Linked DNA regions of Homo sapiens: regions 1, 3, 4, 5, 6 and 7 are each linked to region 2. The links are contacts of gene promoters, found by promoter capture Hi-C in blood cells and fetal thymus (Javierre and others, 2016). All regions are on one chromosome and are shown on one strand. Each heading gives the region's core, a stretch centred on a gene start or on the middle of the fragment in contact. The rest is flanking DNA. Distances are from core to core; before and after follow the strand shown.

What was found. Contacts are between HindIII fragments. The CHiCAGO score rates a contact against its expected background, and 5 or more counts as called.
Region 1: a contact is called between a fragment that was not itself captured here and the fragment with the promoter of POLQ in region 2, in 1 of 17 cell types (naive CD8 T cells). The highest score is 7.1, in naive CD8 T cells.
Region 3: the fragment with the promoter of PARP15 here is called in contact with the fragment with the promoter of POLQ in region 2 in 2 of 17 cell types (neutrophils and activated CD4 T cells); the score reaches 6.3 in neutrophils.
Region 4: a fragment that was not itself captured here is called in contact with the fragment with the promoter of POLQ in region 2 in 2 of 17 cell types (naive B cells and total B cells); the score reaches 8.1 in naive B cells.
Region 5: a fragment that was not itself captured here is called in contact with the fragment with the promoter of POLQ in region 2 in 1 of 17 cell types (fetal thymus); the score reaches 5.1 in fetal thymus.
Region 6: a contact is called between a fragment that was not itself captured here and the fragment with the promoter of POLQ in region 2, in 10 of 17 cell types (total B cells, naive B cells, naive CD8 T cells and 7 more). The highest score is 17.7, in total B cells.
Region 7: a contact is called between a fragment that was not itself captured here and the fragment with the promoter of POLQ in region 2, in 1 of 17 cell types (total B cells). The highest score is 5.9, in total B cells.

The regions. Positions count from the first base shown.
Region 1 is chr3:122,689,088-122,691,787 of GRCh38, forward strand. All of the region lies in intron 3 of PARP14 (poly(ADP-ribose) polymerase family member 14), which reads left to right. Among named protein-coding and RNA genes, the nearest start is that of PARP14, 9.6 kb to the left of the region's middle. The HindIII fragment of the contact is 2,756 bases long and covers 1-2,635 here.
Region 2 is chr3:121,544,572-121,547,271 of GRCh38, forward strand. POLQ (DNA polymerase theta) reads right to left here and starts at 1,417. Exons shown (of 30, transcript NM_199420.4): 1 at 1,144-1,417; 2 at 156-335. The coding sequence starts at 1,306. RefSeq lists enhancers at 1,150-1,379, 1,271-1,565. The HindIII fragment of the contact is 11,524 bases long and covers 1-2,700 here.
Region 3 is chr3:122,576,210-122,578,921 of GRCh38, forward strand. It overlaps PARP15 (poly(ADP-ribose) polymerase family member 15), which reads left to right and starts at 1,441. Exons shown (of 12, transcript NM_001113523.3): 1 at 1,441-1,644. The coding sequence starts at 1,459. RefSeq lists an enhancer at 1,408-1,687 and a silencer at 1,748-1,797. The HindIII fragment of the contact is 6,929 bases long and covers 1-2,712 here.
Region 4 is chr3:123,251,354-123,254,053 of GRCh38, forward strand. All of the region lies in intron 5 of SEC22A (SEC22 homolog A, vesicle trafficking protein), which reads left to right. Among named protein-coding and RNA genes, the nearest start is that of SEC22A, 51 kb to the left of the region's middle. The HindIII fragment of the contact is 414 bases long and covers 1,226-1,639 here.
Region 5 is chr3:123,214,223-123,216,922 of GRCh38, forward strand. The region is part of intron 2 of SEC22A (SEC22 homolog A, vesicle trafficking protein); the gene reads left to right. Among named protein-coding and RNA genes, the nearest start is that of SEC22A, 14 kb to the left of the region's middle. The HindIII fragment of the contact is 1,089 bases long and covers 897-1,985 here.
Region 6 is chr3:123,030,321-123,033,020 of GRCh38, forward strand. No RefSeq gene overlaps it. Among named protein-coding and RNA genes, the nearest start is that of SEMA5B, 3.9 kb to the left of the region's middle. The HindIII fragment of the contact is 211 bases long and covers 1,249-1,459 here.
Region 7 is chr3:123,193,820-123,196,519 of GRCh38, forward strand. No RefSeq gene overlaps it. Among named protein-coding and RNA genes, the nearest start is that of SEC22A, 6.8 kb to the right of the region's middle. The HindIII fragment of the contact is 6,224 bases long and covers 1-2,700 here.

The DNA.
Region 1 (2,700 bases), core at 8-2,507, 1.1 Mb after region 2:
CCATATCCCCAGCCTGGACTCCTCTCTCAATTCCAGAACTTCTGTCTGACCTTCCTGTTGGGAAGTATATTAGAGCCAACATGCCTGAAGCCACATGTGTCATCTTCCTCCCCAAGCAAGGGCCCTTTCTGGCTTCCTCATTTCTCTTGAAGTACACAATCAGTCTGCTCGTCACCTACTAGACATTTCACGCATCACTCCTTTCACATCTGCTGATCATAGAGACCTATTTATTTTATTTTATTGTTTTTGGAGAGAGGGTTTCATTCTGTTGCTCAGGCTGTCTTGGCTCACTGCAGCCTCGACCTCCCTGGCTCAAGCAATCCTCCCACAGCAGCCTCCTAAGTAGCTGGGGCTATTATAACATGCATTACCATGCCCAGCCAATTTTTAACATTTTTTGTGGAGTCGTGGTCTCACTATGTTACCCAGGCTGGTCTTGAACTCCTGGCCCCAAATGACCCTCCCGCCTTGGCCTCCCAGAGTGCTGAGATTACAGGCATGAGCCACTGCACCCAGCCTCATTTTCTTTTAAAGTTTTCCTTATCCATCCTTCTCTCACCACGGGCCCTTCCTTTTTACCTCACAAGTTCAACATGGCAGGAGCTCCCTGCCTGCTCTGTCTGTGTCTGCCACCCTTCTCCTTAAACCTGACCAGCCCTTTGCACTATTGCTAAATAGCCTGCCATCCTTTTCATGGAAACCTTCCATGACTCACCCTTACCACAAGCTGGGAGATAAAGTCCAGACCACCTTCTGGATCTAGTCTGCTTTTCTGGCCTCATTTTCTTCATTCTGCACAATTGTGCGCCTTTTGAGCCACATCAGTCAAATCACTGTTTTCTAAATTGTCTGATGCAGTTGCAGCACTCTGCCTGTGCTTCTGTTGCTCACCATTCCCTCTAGCCCACTTTTCTCTACCCAATTCCACATACCCTTCAAGACCTGCTGAACTTCCTCCTCTTCTCTCAAGTCTTTCCATGCCAGCCCAGCCCTTTTATCTCTTTCTGGGACTCTTGGCCTGATTGTTAATGCTCTTTTTTGGTCAATTAAGCCTTTCTTGTGGTGAAGCGTCTAATATTGATGGGATTATAAAACTATATTGCTGGAAAGATTCTTTCAGTCCAGTTCACTTAGTCCTATACCCTCATTTTATGATTAAGAGACATGCCCAAGGTCACATGGCTAAAGAGTGGCAGCAGGGATTAAACACATATAGCCTCCTCCCTAGCCCAGCAGTCATTGTGATTTGTCATACCTGTCTCACTTAGTGCTAATTTATGTAGTTGCTTTATGCTTAAGCTATTTTTTTTTTAATTTAGCATGAGTGTGTGTGCATGGCATGATAGCCAGCACACAACAGAGTGGTCTAACTGTTGTAACAAACAACCTCCCAAATCAGTAACCTAACACAACACAAGTTTGTTTGTTTATTTATTCATTTATTTTTCTGAGACGGAATCGCCCAGACTGGAGTGCAGTGGTACAATCTCGGCTCACTGCAACCTCCGCCTCCCAGCTTCAAGCGATTCTCCAGCCTCAGCCTCCTGAGTAGCTGGGATTAGAGGCGTGTGTTACCACACTCGGCTAATTTTTGTATTTTTGGTAGAGACAGGGTTTCATCACATTGGCCAGGCTAGTCTGGAACTCCTGATGTCAAGTGATCCGCCTGCCTCGTTCTCCCAAAGTGCTGGGATTACAGGCATGAGCCACTGCGCCTGGCCACAACACAAGTTTATTTCTCCTTCGCATCACAGTTCAGTGTAGTTGGCAGCTGTGATGGTGGTGGGAGTGTCAGTCACTTCATGTGGTCATTCAGGGACCCAGGCTCCTTCCACCCTTTGACACCATTATCTTTAAATGTGGTTTCCAAGGTCACTGCAAGGGAGAATGGGGTTTCATATTAAGGATATTTATATTGGCCAGGCCTGAAGGTGGAATTCACTTCCACCCATATTCCATTAACTGCAGGGACACTACTGTTGAAACTGAACTGCAGAAAACTTGAGAAATATTGTCCAGGAAGTAAGCAAAATGGATTTGGTGCACACAGAGCATTTTATGTGGCCACTGCGAACATTTACACATGTCATTTTCCTCATATACCTCCATTAGAAAATCTGTAAATTTCTTAACTAATGTTTTTTTATATTCTTACTTCTCCTTACATCCAGGGTCTTGAACACGATAAGAGTCCCCATTGAAAAACTGTCCACAGAATGCCTAAAGATCAGATCGTACCCACCATGCTTCAGTGGACAAGCATACAGTGAGACTGACCTTGTGTGTATGTGTAACTCATTTTTACAGTCAACAGTGGAGAGGAATGAGTCAGCTGGGTGATTGCCATTCAGCGGGCTTCGTATACAGCAGGCCTTGGCCATTTCACTTTCTGTGTGTATTCCTTAATCATTTGCTATAGGGATCCTTTTTTCTTTTCAGTGATGGGAACTTAACTATTTTTTGGAGTATAATGTGTTAGGTGATACCCATGTTTGGGCATCATCAGATAGTCTTGCTTTCCTCCAGTGACCCAAGCAGTAAATCTCCAATTCAGCAAACATTTACTGAGCCTCAATTATATACCATATGCTAGCAATACAAGGATGAATAAACATGTGTCTCGCTTTTGAGAAGCTTTGTTGAATAATTTTAGTCTGGTGCTGTGCTAGAAATAGATATCAAGTGCTAGGAAATATA
Region 2 (2,700 bases), core at 167-2,666:
TAAATAAAACTCCACTTTTCACACATATTGTACGATTTTCTCTAGTTATAAAGCACTGCCTCATTCACCTTTTAAACGAACCACAACTACCTCAATAGAGTATTCTTTACATTCATATCTTAAAAATAGTAATTAGTTTACATAAATTTGGATACCTGAATAAACTAAATTCTTTCCTTCCAGGACTTGTCCAAGCAAAAGGCACTCTGCCTGCCATTCAAACATCTTTTTTACACCAAAACTGTGGTATTTTTCCAGAACTGCTTTAGGAAGTCCCCAGTTTGCCAATAGTAGCTTGTCTCTTTCGTAGTCAGGAACTGTAGGCTTGCATTCTCCTTTTAGGAAAAAGAAAAAATTAAAATTTAATTTACTTCTAATATATGAGTTTTACAGTTAGCCCTTCACCGTGTGTTGGAATTCCTATGTGTTGAAATGAAGCTCTTTAAAGCACATCCTGACTTCAAGAATCTTATGAGAAATTGACCATGTATAGAAAAGTAATAAATTGTTATTTACTGCATATAATAAAAATTCCTTAAAAGCCTCAAACGAACAAAAAAGCGTGCAATACACAGTAGATAAAGAGTGTTGGAATTACGGGTGTAGTTGGGGGAGGAGGGCAATATGCAAGCATTACAAAGCTAAGTTAGGTGAGTTTCTATTTATAGTAAGTTTTAGTTCCATGACGACTGCACAACTAACGATTTTAAAAAACTGGGTCGACATCCACGGGACACCCAACCAATCTCATTACGAATCCCTTCCAGCCTTCCCCTGGACGCCGAACAGCCTGTGCCGTACTCCAGGCCCAACAATCCTGTCTTAAGGGTCTGTAAGGAGTACTGGGTACTACCAGGAACGAGCCGCCCAACAGATGATGGGATGAAGCTAACTAGGAAGTTGTTTCTCTAAAGGTCGAAAGATCCAGAAGCCACGTGAACATTAATACCAGGCGATCACTGAAAACACGCGTATGTCTGAACAGAAAGTGACCTGCCACACCAGGCCCCAGTCACAGAGAAGGGGAGTAGAAGCCCAATGGGGTATGCAACGAAGCAAGTCCCGTGGGGTGAGGACACCTCCCGACCCATGGCCCGGCGGAGCTGCCCCCGTTGCCCGCGGCCTCCCGGGTTCCTGGAGCACCTGCAGCTGCGGCCTTCAGGCAGCGACCAAGGCCGGGCGGCGGGCTCAGCACGGACCCGGAGAGGAACTGGGGGCTGGCACTGCTGTCACCGCCGCTTCCCGAGAACGAATCTGAGCCTGATTCTGAACGCCGCCGTTTCCCACTCCGACGCAGAAGATTCATGGCAAACTCTTCTCGGCCGATCAGGGCAAGCCACAGTCCCAGCGTCCTCCCTCTCGGGAGAACCCTGGCCTGGCAACAGCTGCGGACATCTTCCCGCCAGTCTTCAAACTCAAACCTCCCGGCCCGCCCCGGAACCATAGAGTTCTCCGTGGCTTAAGTAACCCGAAAGCCATAGACTCGTGGGGAAGGAGCGGCTCTCGCTGGCGTCTAAGACTTCCGGCCTCCAACCTCCTGGTTGGTTAATATGAGAGATAGATTAAAGAGGAAGAATACAGAATCTACAGTTATAACCATACTGACCTAAAAGCCTTCCTTCTCCTTTTGTCCATTTCTGGTTTGAATAGGAAGGCCATGCTAACTTCATAAAATGGGCTGCCCATAATAGGTAGATCAGGGAAGTAGCTCTTCTTAACGTATTGGTATTCTGTAAAAAATTATTTCAGATTGAGAAGCATTATGCAAGATAGCCTAGGGTTTCTAATAGAGCATAATTTCCTCCTTTCTCCTAGTATATGATGGTAGGGCAGGGCTATTTCTGAACACAATTTCCATTTTAGCCAGCATGCATTGTGAGGAATATGTAATGAGGAATTGGGGATTGCTGGCTGACAGACCCCTGAGACACTATATGAACGCCGCGAGGAAGGGGCTCTGAATATACCCCAGGGATCGTTATGAGCCAAGAGCTTAGTAATGCATCTGTGTTGTCCCTTTTGTAAAGGTAGAAGCGAACGAGTTCTGAACGTAAAACGGTGACCATTCATTACCTAGTTGCATAATTCATTTCACCAAGCAAAACTAGTAGGCCCTAAGCCTGACCTGAAGAGGCTGTGCAGTTCTAGAGCACTAAAAATCTCAAAAGGTCCAGTCCAATTAAAAAAAAAAAAAACACTCGAATACAATCTGGAAAATAGCATTCGAACCATCAATTCCTTCCGTGAAAACATTTTTTTGATTTAAATGACAATATTCTAAAGTTCCACGAGATGGCGACATTACTCCGTGAATGAAACATTTTTCTCTTGGCCTTTTACGCAATCAACAACTATTTACTGAGTATCTACTGTAAGCTAGCCACTGGGTAAATGGCAGTGAAATGGCATAAAATGGTTCCTGCTCTCAAAGAGAAAGAGTCTAGAGAATAAGGCAGACATTAAACAAGTCAGTTAATGAAGTGTGCCATATGCTTGGGCAGAAATGAAGAGTACTATTAAAGAAATAAAAGAGATCTCGCCGGCCGTGGTGGCTCACGCCTGTAATCCCAGCACTTTGGGAGGCCGAGATGAGTGCATCACCTGAGGTCAGGAGCTCTAGACCAGCCTGGCCAACATGGTGAAACCCCGTCTCTACAAAAATACAAAAAATTAGCCGGGTATGATGGCGGGTGCCTGTAA
Region 3 (2,712 bases), core at 191-2,690, 1.0 Mb after region 2:
AAATAGAGTTTAAACTCAGCAGCATGGCCGTTAGCGATTGCTCATGCCACTTTGCATACTTTGTGCTCCTTCCTCACCACCAAGTCCCTAGGGTTCAGTCACACCAGACTACAAGATTTTCCAAAGCACAGTCTATGCTTTCATTCATGTGATCTTTGTTCTGTGTAATCCACCCCCATCGCTGCTCTCTGCATGACAGATGATGAAAAAGGGAACTCTGAAGAGAGAGAGGGAGAGAGAGACACACCTCATTCTCATTCTTCACCTGATTTTCCTCTTAGAAAGTCCCCTACTCATCATGCAAGGTCTTACTGAAATGCCACTACTATAGAAACTTTTCTCCAATCTTGTCTCTAAATTACAACGAACCACTGATTTCTGTTATCCTAATACTTTATATGTATCTCAATGCAAATACGATACCAAAACCTTTTACCCTGCTCTCTGCCTTGGAGGTGGTACTGAGGGCTGACCTCTAAGTACCACATCAGCTCCATTCTCTGATTACTCATTGGGTTCTGCAGTGGGAGGTACCAGCACGAGATTGGAAGGCACACGGAGAGAGTACTTGGGATGCTTATACTCCCCTGGCTGTCTTCCGAAAGCAGTCATGGGTTCTACCTGCTGGCACTTGGTATAGCTCTTACCAAGTTCAGGAGATGCCCCCTCCCTTGCCCCTTCAGCCTAGATGGTAAGGGGAGGAGGCTACTTCACCATCTCTCAATGGTTTCCTTAACCCTTTGCCCACACCTGTGTAAATAATTTCTTTATTAAATTATCTTCAATTATTAATTTTGAGTATACCATCTGTATACTGCCAGGACTTTTCGTGATACACCAGGTAACAGTATTAATCTATGTTTTATTTCTCCACCTCCTACTTCACCCCTCACTCCAAAGAGAGGGGATCTGTGTCTAATTCATCTTTATAATCTTAACACAGTGCCAGGCATATCAAAGGCCTTCAATACGCGTTGATTGAATTAAATAATGCCCTGTTGGGCCAGAGGGGAACCTGACTCCAGCCCTGGCTTAGGGAGCACAGGAGAGAACCCAGTGTATTTTTCTAAATATGGGTGTGTAGGGAGAATTGGGGGGAAAGGAGTGGGATGCCCAACAGAAAAGGAAAGGAATACTGATTCCTGTGTTTTAATGTGCCAGGCATTCTACAGACTTTATCTCATTTAATCTTCATTATAATAACATGAAATAGTTATGGCTGTGCCCACTGTACAGATGCTATTGACTGAGGCTACATAACTAATAAAATTGCAGACCTCAGGATTTTGACCCAGGATTTGTCTGGCAGTAACGTCTGTCCCAAAGGGCGACACAATCCTGAGGCAGCTGTTCGCAAACTCGAGGCCTCAATCTTTGACGGAAGCGGTTTTCAGAGAAAAGAAGTTCGAGGCACAAGCCTGTTGGGTGGGGCGCAACTGCAGTCCCAGCGAGCTGAGGATGGCTGCGCCAGGCCCCCTTCCTGCCGCTGCTCTGAGTCCAGGGGCTCCGACCCCCAGAGAACTTATGCACGGAGTTGCAGGTGTTACTTCCAGAGCCGGACGAGATCGGGAGGCGGGGAGCGTGCTGCCGGCCGGGAACCGTGGGGCGCGGAAGGCCTCCCGGCGCTCTTCCTCCCGGAGTATGGTGAGGAGCGCGGGGGACGGGTGCGGGAAGGGGACAGCAGGGCTGAGCCTGGGGCCCGCAAGACCCAGCAGCCCGAGCGGGCGCAGAGACCCCACGCCACGCACAACCCTCTCTTCTAGGGGGCGCCGACTACACTGACTTCCCTGTTCCGGAAGAGGGGGATGCGTGCTGCTTCTTTTTCCTTAGCATTTCTGGTGGTTTTTTTTTTTTTTCCCTTAAAATTTAAAAGTTCTTTATAAAGTTTGAAAGGATATGAGTCCTTTATTCGTGATATGTGTTATGAATATGTCCTCCCAATTTATTTTTTGTTTTTTGAGTTTGCTTATGGGGGGCTTTTGTTTCTCTTTGCCATGCAAATATTTTAAATTTTGTGTGGCAAGACTTACCAGTCTTTTATTTTATGACGTCTAGACTTTTAGTCATATTTTAATATATGACTTTTAGTCATACTCTTCCCTACACCCAAGTTATAGAAGAGTTCACTCATGCTTGCTTCTAGTACTTGAACTGATGTATTTTTTACATTTAGATCTATAATACATTTGGAGTGTGTTATTGTGTGTGGTTTGAGGAGTGAATCTAATTATTTTTTTTCAAATGGGTATCAAGTGTCCCAACACCATTTATTATAAAGGTCGTCACTGTCCCAGTAACTTGAGATACCAGCTTTATCATGTACTAGACTTTCATATGTGGTTCGGGTATTTCTGGACCTTCTATTTTCATCCATTGACCCGTTTATTCATCTGCTTTAGAGAGGCTTTGCTGTATGTTTTAATGTCAGGGCTAGTCTTCCTAGAGAGTGCTTCCTTGTCACTATTTTCCTAGCTATTCTTGTTGTTTATTTTTCCTTATGAACTTTTCTGATGTATGATCAGTTTAAAAAAAAAAAAGAAAAGCTCTTTGGAATTTTTATTGGGATTGCATTAAATTAATAAATTACAGAGAGCTGATATCTTTAGGTGGTGTTGACATGGTCTAACCTACTGTGCTGTGAAAGATTGAAAATTTGAGTATGTAATGTATATGATATTAAATTGTGAATTGGTGGGACATATGTAACAGCTT
Region 4 (2,700 bases), core at 183-2,682, 1.7 Mb after region 2:
CTGATGGTTGATACAGAATCCTTTCTTTTGTCTTAGACTAAATTACTCTAACATTTCTTACTTACCTGATCCAGGGAACTGTAAATTGGTTCATATGGGGATTCTTAGCTATCTGGAAAATGAGGGCATTGGTACCTGCCTCTGTGTTCCCTTAGCACTTAAAGTCTTTGTTCTGCCATAACCCACCTGAAGTATTCCACATACACTCATTTAGTAGTTGAGGTTCCTGAGAGAGTGATTCTAAGAGGAGCAAGGAAACAACAGAATGCAAAGTTGGGGATAATGTAGTCCACAAGTAGTTTGTCATTCATAGGTAATTTTAAAAGATTTTCCAGCAAATTCTGATCCTCTCACCTAAATGAAAATCAGTACCTTTGCAAATCCACTTGACCAAAAGTAGAAACTCCCATTGTTCCAGTTATCGAGGACTTTATATCTGCATTGAGTACAACAATGTTCTGGTAAGTGACTAGTGCTTGGGAATATTTTTCCTTTCCTTTTCCCACTGTGAAGATAAATGAAGGAGCACTATATAGTGTTAGAATTCTCTGCTTTGTAAAGATTCTGTGTCCTAAAAGATGGAATGGATGATAAGTGAACAAAAGGAGAAAATGAAGTGTCAGAATGTAAATGGACACAATGATAAACTTTAGAGGTTTAAACCAGATAGGTTCAAGAGTGCAAACTAGAGTGATTTTCCGAGTACATCCTTAGCCCGACTTAACCTGAAAGAAAATACATACAAAATTGGGAACCTGAGGTCTCTTACTTTTAATTTTCCCTTATTGAAGTTTTATCATTGTTCACAACTTGTATTGGATAAAATATCCTTTTTATTTTCACTAAAGCCATTAGTCTTAAGACATACTCTTAGCCCTCTTTCTGGTTGATCATTACATTTTACATTAGGAATAATCTCAAACGTCACTCTGGATAATTTTTGGTTAGTAAAGGTAGAACTTTCTGAGGTAGTCTGCTCTGAAGACTTGAGTGCAAATCCCAGGACACAGGACTTAAAGTTTTATCTATTTTGAAGTTACCTACAGTGGTGTTATTCATATCACAATGTTAGAGGAGGGGGAAGGGCAGTACCCCAGATTGAGTGGGCTTACTGCTTCTCTGATACTTGATTTAAGAGCAAAGGACTTATTTGGGAATTATAATTTTAGATCTGACTGAAAATATGTAGTGTATTTCCTGAGTTTGAGTAATATATAGACATTAAAGCTTACTTTTTTAAAGCCATGAATTCTAAACACTCTTTCTGAATGCTGAAAATGACTGCTACATTTATCTCTAGTATCTTGAGGCTCATTTAAATTTGAGGACCCACATGAATCAACATTCTTGCATGTTATTAATGGTGTTTGAAGATTCAGCACAAGTTTGTTTCTTCCAGATTATTAACTGCCTCACAGGGTGATAGCAAGGGATTTATTCAAATACGTAGCACTGAAGTTTTTCTTGGTATCTAAGTTTAAACTGGGGAGGCTTAGGATGGGTATAGTTTTTTTAAGTTCATAAGTTTATTTTGGAGTCCACAGTAATATATAAATTAGATTATTTTCACTTCTTAACTTTGCTCTGAGTTTAGAGATGGTAATAAGTTTTTTGTGAATTGATACCTTATGAAGGCATAAGCTTTTTTCACATTGGCTTATATTACATGTATTTCTTTAAGGCTCAACCTTGAAACAATTACATTAATTAGGCTAATACCAACCTGGAAGTAATTTGCATATGGCACATTAGAAAAAAAATGGAATCTTTTGATATCTCAGTAGAAATGCTGACCTGGAAGTTAAGATACCTGGGTCCCATCTGCCAGTAACTTTGTGACCCTGCATGGGTTATTTTACCTTCTTGTATCTCATCTTGCAATTCTGCAAGATGAAGATTTTAGACTACATAAGCCCAGGGGCCATTTCTTAGGTCTTAGGACAGACAATCTAAGATTTCTCGGATTCTAAAATTGTTTGTAAAAGCTTCTACAAAGCAGAAGTCATCAACTTGCTTTTATTTCTTATCTTCTTTCCCATAGACTTGTTGATGCCTTTTAAAGAAATTATGTCCCTGCTGGCCAGGCACGGTGGCTCACGCTTGTAATCCCAGCACTTTGGGAGGCCAAGGCAGGTGGATCACGAGGTCAGGAGTTCAAGACCAGCCTGGCCAATGTGGTGAAACCCCATCTCTACTAAAAATACAAAAATTAACTGAGCGCGGTGGCAGGTGCCTATAATCCCAGTTACTCCGCAGGCTGAGGCAGGAGAATTGCTTGAACCTGGGAGGCGGAGGTTGTAGTGAGCCGAAGATTGTGCCATTGCACTCTAGCCTGGGCGACAGAGCAAGACTCCATCTCAAAAAAAAAAAAAAAAAGAAAGAAAGAAATTATGTCCCTGCTAATACTTAACAGAACTTTTTCATTTATTTAGTGACATATCTATGCTAAGGTGTGGTGCTTACTTTCTTTCAAAAGAAATAAAAGCATTTTTTCTGATTATATGCTAATTCATTGTTAAAGAATTAGGAGATCCTACAAGACAGTGCCATAAAATAGAAGATAATAAAGATTAAATAACATTAAAAAGTGGAGAAAGAAAATAAAAAAGTTATAAATAAATAAAATAAAAATAACAAAAAAGAGTTGGGGGAAATGTATAAAGAATAAAATAAAAATTATCACCAAATTTTCATACATGT
Region 5 (2,700 bases), core at 191-2,690, 1.7 Mb after region 2:
ATAAAATAAAATTGAGAAAATTCCTTTAGTTTTCTTCTCCTCTGTATTGGGAAAATGATGAATTTCAAATGAATGTAGTAGCTGGATACTTCTGTTTCGCCAATGAAGGACATTCTGTGGAGCATGGCTTGTGCTAGCACAGTTCCTTGTGCATGTCGTAGTAGCTACTAAATGAGGGATGGTTGTTTTAGGAATATGACAGCATTCAGAGTGCCAGAGAAACCTTGTTGATTGGGCAGGATGGTGTGTAGTGTGGGGTGTTCAGTTTTGTGATTTCTTCTCACATTCTATAGTGATATTCCAATTCTCTCTATATAAAATTTTAAGGAATTCATCTGTTTTATAAGTCGAAGGGTACTTTCCTTAGACTGTAATGAATTTTTAATGAATAAACTTATGTTACCACTTAAGAAAAAAACATGGCTAAAGTAAGTATGAACCATATGGAAATTAGGTTGGGTCATCTGAGATCTTTAAAACTTTGCAGTTGGCTTTAGAGATTTAAAAATCATAGTTGTACATTTTGAAATCTCTTTATTTAAACAGTAAGATGCTGAAAAGACAAATACCTTTTGGGAAGCCAATCATATCCTATTGTGAATTTTAGTGCAAGAAGTAAAATTTTTTAGTTCTTTCACTGTGAATTCATTTGAAGCCGTATAATCGCTGTGAGCCTCCTAATGTTTTTTCCTTGCCTGAGGGTTCACTTTCTCCCTACACTGCTACCTCCAGCCAGGAATACTGTTTTAGGCTTACCTGCATTTTGGCTTTAGTGTCTAGCAGTGTTTCCCTTTCACTCTTTCGGGAAATTTTCTGATTACTAGAGTAACAACTTAAACTATAACCCAATTATTGAGTACTTGCTATTGCCAGGTACTTTACTGACATTATCATTAAGCTTTCTAACAGCTCTGTGAAGGGCTATTAAATAGAGCTCTTTTCCATTGCCAGGGGCAGACACACAACTCACATTAGCTTAAGGAAAAATGGGTATTTTGAAGGGTAGTGGTGGAGCTGGCTTCACAGATGTTATCAGGAATCTTTCTCATTTCTACAGTCTCTCACCTTTTGCAGATAGATACTCTCTACGACTTGAAAGCACTACACAGACAGCTCCAGGCTTACTTCAGTCCAACTGAGCAACTCCTCTCCATGTCTCAAGAACAAGACATTGTCTTTGCTTGTATAATTGACCATTTCTAGACTGATTAATCATTGTAGTCAGAGGGGATGAGGTACTCTTATTTGGCTAAGACTGCATCACATGTCCTTACCCCTTTGAGCTTTACCAAAGCCATACAGAATGGCGCTGAAGGTAATTCCCCAAAGGGAAAGAGGGAAGGGATGCTGGGCAGGTAGATGCTGGGTAGTGCTATCACTACCCTATTTTACAGATAAGGTAAATGAGACTTAGGAATGTAAAGGAGCTCCTTCAACGTCACAAAAATAGTAAATGATATATATGAACCACAATCTTTTGGATTCAGGCATCGCATTATTATCTGGTAAAAAATGGCTGCTGCTCTTTACCCTTAACCCCTTTCTTGGCAGCATGTGTTCCTAATTCTCCCAATTCTTTTCACTTTTTATGGAGAGAGAAATGAACCAGGGAAGAGAATGAAGGGAAATACCACCCCCCTCTTTTTTTGGTCAATAATAATGAGGAACAGAGTATGTGTGAATCCTAAAATTGATGGGACAGCATTGTCTCATTGTAGACTAGGTGTTTGGCAGGGAGAGGGTGTGGCAGGGAAATGCAACCAACCTATAACTACTAAACCAGTTGGGGGAAGGAGATAACCTGGGTATTCAATTTTCCTATTTTGTCTCATTACTAGTATCACATTCCTTTTCTCCTGCTTATTATGGCAAAATGTACAGCTTTTCAGCACCATGTATGTTAAATAGGCTCTTGTGAACTGGCCTAGGAACCTAATTACTGTTATAGTACAGTTTCTGTGGGAAAATGAGATCTAGATGCAATAAGCTTTGGGAAATATACCCAATATGTAAGTTAGGGATTATCTGATCAGTTATCTAAAAAAGTCAGGATCTTCATTCTCTGGAGTGTGGCTGTGTTAGGGAAGTGAGAAAGGGTGAATTGGGAGATTAACTCTGAAGAAAAGGAAATAAAGATGTCAAAGGCAAACTTTGCTTGTTCTGTGTTTTATCCAAGTCTCTCATGGTGTAATTACCATTGACTTCTTAAAATGATCTCAGATTCTCCTTTAGGTTACTGTTGTAAGTTACCATCATCTGGCATATTTCATATTAATAAATATTTTCATTTTTAATGATGTTAAAATTTATGGCTAAAATGGGTCTTTTATTCATAGGATGATTTATTCATGATGTGGCGCTTCACCATTGGAGGGTAATTGAAAGTTGGCCATGTAAGAAAGGAGTAAGTGAGAAAATAGAAAGTTCCTGGTAAAATGCTACATGTAATGGACACTCAGTGTTACTGAGCCCTCATTCTTATCTCCTTACTGTTCCACTAGTGGCAGAGTCTTTTGTTTTCATCTTGTTTTCTATGAGACATATTTGGTGATAATACAATTCATAAGATATGCTCACTTTGTTAATGTTGAGCCCCTCTATTCAATATTTTATTTTTATTTTTAGAGATGGGGTTTTGCTCTGTTGCCCAGGCAGGAGTACAGTGGCACAATCAGCTCATAGCACCCTTGAACTCCTGGG
Region 6 (2,700 bases), core at 104-2,603, 1.5 Mb after region 2:
AAACATTGTAATTAAGCAGAATGGAAATATAGTAATTAACACAGTGTTATCTCAAGCAAACAAGCTAAAGAGCGGTGAATATAGGGGGTGACGGAGTTTTTAGGATTCACTCTTGACCTAGAAATTCCAAACTTATCTTGAACTAAGGTTGAAAGAGTTTAAGAAATAGATCCAAATTCTCATGCTCAAGAGCAGGAAAGGGTGGAAAAGCTAGGAGCACAACACTGTCTTCTTCCTCCCACCTGAGGGCATTTTCTGGGAGATAAAGCTAAAAAATGAGTGCAGGCTCTCCCAAGAGGCCATCTCTCTCTCTCTCTCTCTCTCTCTCTCTCTCTCTCTCTCTCTCTCTCTCTCTCTCCCCTCTATGTGTGTGTGTGTGTGTACACATGCTTGTGCATAGCCCAGGCACAAACACAAACCTTGTCTTGCAGCAAAAGGCAAACAGCCAGTCATATACTAATAGGAGACAGAGAATTGAAAATAAAAAGACAGCACGTATAATGTCCAAATTGTTTTCTGCTCCCAGAATTGCCTGCTCATTGTGCCTGGGGATGGCAAAGAAAAAAGAAAATTCCCACCCCAGAAGTCATTGTCAATTTGTGAACCAAAACCTTGCTCAGGTCAGAGGAACTGAAGTGTCACTGAATGACTGCTTTGCCATTGTCCTGAACTAATGTGAAAGAAGAGATCTTCCTTCCTTCCTTCCTTCCTTCCCATTTAAGTGTCACTCACTAAGCTAGGCAGAGAGGTCATAGGAAGAGCTTCACAGGCAGGCAGGGGAGGCAGACGTAATCATAGCAAATGCAAGGACTGCCACAGGATGGGAGCTCTGCGGGCACATGGAGAGCCAGTTACCATCCTACCAAACAGGACAAAGAAGTCTTCATTGGAAATGGCCATTCTAGCTGAGAATGGAAGATAAGGCAGGAATTTGCCAGACAGAGAAGCAGGAGGAGGCAGAGTATTCCAGGCAGAGGAAGTAGCATGTATAAAAGCACAAGGCGATATAATTAGATTTCTGTTTGAAGAATTACTTGCCCCTGGTTAACAGATTCAGAGAGAGCTGAAGCAGTAAATGTGAGCAGGTGTTTCATGTGGTGGAAAGAGCACCGCACCAGCAGTTAGGGCTCCCCAGTCCTAGGATGAGCTGGGCCACTGATGAGCTGAGTGTCCTTGGACAAGCCTCTTAATCTCTCCAACCTTAGCTCCTCCTGGATAAAATGAAAGGGGTTGATCCACTGGTTTGTAAGCTTCTCCTTGCACATGTATTCTATGATTCTGTCTCTACCTGAAGATACTTCTTTAAATCCTGCTCTACATTATGCTCTTTACCGTATTTGCACACTTGTTCCTTTCCTTGTGTATAGCACTTTACAGTTTACAAAACTATTTGCCATATACTATCCCCTTTGACCTTCACAGCCATGTGAGGGAGACAGCTACACTGAAGACCTAGATAAGCTTGTCCAGTCACTGGCTGTAAACCTCTCTGTGCGGATGATGCCCAAGTTTGTATCTGCAGCTCCGGCCCTCTCGCTCTCTCTTAAAATCTGGATGTATAGAACCAACTGCCTGCCCCTCCTCTGCATGACCATCTAAGAGACATCTCTATCTTAACATACCCAACACTTAACTTCTGATTTGTTTTTCCAAGCCAGCTCCTCCCTCAGTCTTCCCCATCCTAGTAAGTAAAAACTCCATTCTTCCAGTTCCTCAAGGTCAAAAGCTTGAAGTCATTTCATACCCTCCATTCAGACCATCCATAAATCCTGTCGTCTCTATCTTTGAAATATTTTCAGAATCTTACCATTTCTCCCCACCTCTTCTACTTGTGCCCTAGTTCAAACCACTCTCTTCTCTCCCCTGGATGTTTGCTCTGCCATTTCTAACCTTTGTACCTACAGTCTGTTCTCCACACGGAAGCTGTCCTAATTCAGATCCTATCACTCCTCTGCTCAAAAACCTTCTATGGCTCCCCAGCTCTCTAGAGAAAAAGCCTTAGCAGCCCCACAAGGCCTGTCTGACATTATCTGCTAGCGCTCTCCCTATCCTCACTTCTCTCAGGCTTCCCCAGCCTCTCTGCTATTCCTCACACACCCAAGGCTCTCACCTCAAGGCCTTTGTACTTGATGCTCTCTCTGCCTGGAAAGCTCTTTTGCCAAATGTCCACATAGGTCATTTCCTCACTTCCTTTAATCTCTGCTCAAATATCAATTCATCAGAGATGTATTACCATCTTTTCAAAAATGACAAATACTTGTCATTATCACCATCTGACATTGTACATATTTATTGTCTGTCTCCCCTGACCAGAATATAAATTCCACAGGAGCAGAGGCCTTGCCTGCTTTGTTCATCACTATAGCCCCAGCTTACAGAACAGGGCTTGGTTTTTGTTTGTTTGGTGGTTTCTTTTAAAGGTACAAAATAATGATTTAATAAATGAATGATTATTATCCTCATTTTACAGATAGGAATCAGGGATGCAATTGGTAATTTTCAGAGCTAGGCTTGAACTGAGATTTTTCCATATAAATTTTTTTCTCCAATTGCTTATTAGTTAATATTTATATTAGCACTTAAAAACTCTTTAATAGAAAATGTATATTATAGTAAAACATGCTAATTGTTTTTCAACCCAGTTAACCACCTGCAGCATTCCAAATCACAACAGAGGGGAGAATTAGCTCTGAAACCCAC
Region 7 (2,700 bases), core at 162-2,661, 1.6 Mb after region 2:
CGTCCCTTTGAAATCCTCCCAGAGACATTTGGTCAGGTTTTATTGGCATTTATCTCGTTTGGCTGCTGTCTTAGTCTATTTGTACAGCTATTGCAAAATATCTTAGACTGGGTAATTTTATAACAACAGAAACTTGGTTCTCACAGTTCTGGAAACTGGGAAGTCCAAGATCAAGGCACCAGCAGGTTTGGTATTTGGGGAGGGCCTGATCTCTGCTTCCAAGACGGCACCGTGTTGCTGCATCGTCTAGAGGGGACAAATGCTGTGTCTCACATGGTGGAAGAGTGGAGGAGCATAAACCCACTCCCTCAATCCCTTTTATGAGGGCCTTCACGATTTGATTACTCCTAAAGGCCCCACCTCTTAATGCTATTACATTGGCAATTGAGTTTCAACATATGAATTTTGGAGGATACATTCAGACCATAGCAGTTGTCATTGTCTTTATACATGTTTCTCTCCCCATCCTGTGAGTGCCTTAAAGGAGGGACCATATCATATTTATCGCTGTCACTGCCCAGCACAGAGAGGATGCACAATGTTTGTTGAATATGTGAAGCATTAATTAAAACACAACATTGAATAATAAACCATTTATACCACAGTGGGAATGTTATTTCAGAATTTCCAAGATACAGATAAGAAACTTTTCTTTCTGTTTTTTAGAAATATTGCTGTCAAAGATGGTGCTAACCTGAAAGAAAAATAACATAATATAAATATGACACCTTTGTGTTTAGGACAGCTCTAGACATACAGTGTTAGAGACAAGGAAACGATGTGATGGTGGCAAAACTATTGATGCAAATGCAGCGTTGAGACATCCCTGCTTCCATCCCAGCCCCAGCCTCTCCAGCCCCTCCTGCTGGCAACTCTTTTCCCCTGGTTCTGTAGCGCTCTGTTCCAAGACTCAGACATAATCCTACCCAAATACACATCTGCACCTCCCCCCGCCCCGCCCCGCCGCCCCAGCAACTCCACCTGGAGCCTGGCGGTGGAGTTGGGGGCTCCCTCAGACTGGCTGCACAAAGGTGACTTCATAGTCTTAACCATTTATCTCCCGTCACAGATTAAAAGCCCAGGCCTTCCAGAGAGCTGGCTCACATACCAATAGAGAAATCCGAAAGTGCAAAAAAAAAAACACGGGATGGGGGGAGTGCTACAAATAATCTTGATTATATATTATGAAAAAGTAACGGTATAAAACAGTGCTGTCCCATAAAAATAGAATGTAAGCTACATATGTGATTTTTTTCCAGTAGCCACCTTAAAAAAGTAAAAGGAAACAGATAACATTGACCATAATATATTTTAAACTACATATCAAGATATTATCATTTCAACACATATAATCAATATTTTTAAAGTTCTACATTGCTTCAATTTTAAAACTTAATCTTAACTAAAATAAAATTAAAATGATCAAAATTAATAAATTTAGTATTGATACAGTACTACTATCTAATTTACTGTCCATATTCAAATATCATCAGTTGTCCAAATAGTGTTCTTTATGGCTATTTCTTCCTCTAGTCTAGGGTCTAATTCAGGATCCTACACTGCATTTAGTTTTCGTGTCTCTTTAGTCTCCTTTAATCTGGAAAATATCCTCAGTCTTTATCTTTTTAACATTGACATTTTTGAAGGGTATGGGGCCATTTGTTATGAAAAATGTCTTTCAATTAGGGTTACTTTAATGTTTCCATGTGATTATTTTCTGGTTTCGCATTTTTGGTGGGAATCCTACGGAAACAATGTATGTCTGTGGCAGACACAGAAATTCCCTGTCTGGGTCCTCCTTCAAGGGAGGACTTGCCACCCAGCTGCAGGGAGAGTCAGCAGGTAGCCTCCAGCTGATAGCTTTTTGTATGTGCTTCACCTTTGGAGAGCTACCTTGTTTGATATCATGCCCATCTTGGGGGAATCCACATCTGGTGACTTTATGAAGCAAGGATATAAAAGCCTGACCATTCTGATCCGACATAAGACCAAAGGTATCAGACATTTAAGATATATGGAGAAAAGAGTAGGTAGAGGATAATGTATCAGATGGCTATTTTTTTTTTTTCTTTGACACAGAGTCTCATTCTACTGCCCACGCTGGAGTGCAGTGCCACCATCTCGGCTCACTTCAGCCTCCACCTCCCAGGTTCAAGTGATTCTCCTGCCTCAGCCTCCCAAGTAGCTGGGATTACAGGTGCCCGCCATGCCCAGCTATTTTTTTTTTTTTTTTTTTGTATTTTTAGTAGAGACAGGGTTTCACCACGTTGGTCAGGCTGGTCTCGAACTCCTGACCTCAGGTGATCTACCCGCCTCAGCCTCCCAAAGAGCTGGGATTACAGGCGTGAGCCACCGCGCCCAGCCCTAATATGTATCTTTAACTTATCACGTTCTACCTTCAAATACAGTTACACCACTTCATGCATGGTGTTAAAAACCTTCTAACAGTATATATTCATTCCCCTTTCCCTTACAATATCATTAACATATGTTTTACTTCTTCATTTGTTGTAAACATTTTTATTTTTGTTACACTTTTGCTTTAAGTGATTAAAGCAAAAGTGGTAACAAAAACAATTTGTTACCACTTTTGCTTTACGTGGTTAATTATATACATTTTCAAAAGAGGAAAAGTTTTATATTAATTCATATATTCACATTTTCTGATACTTTTTGTTCCTTTTGTGTGAATTTGAGTTT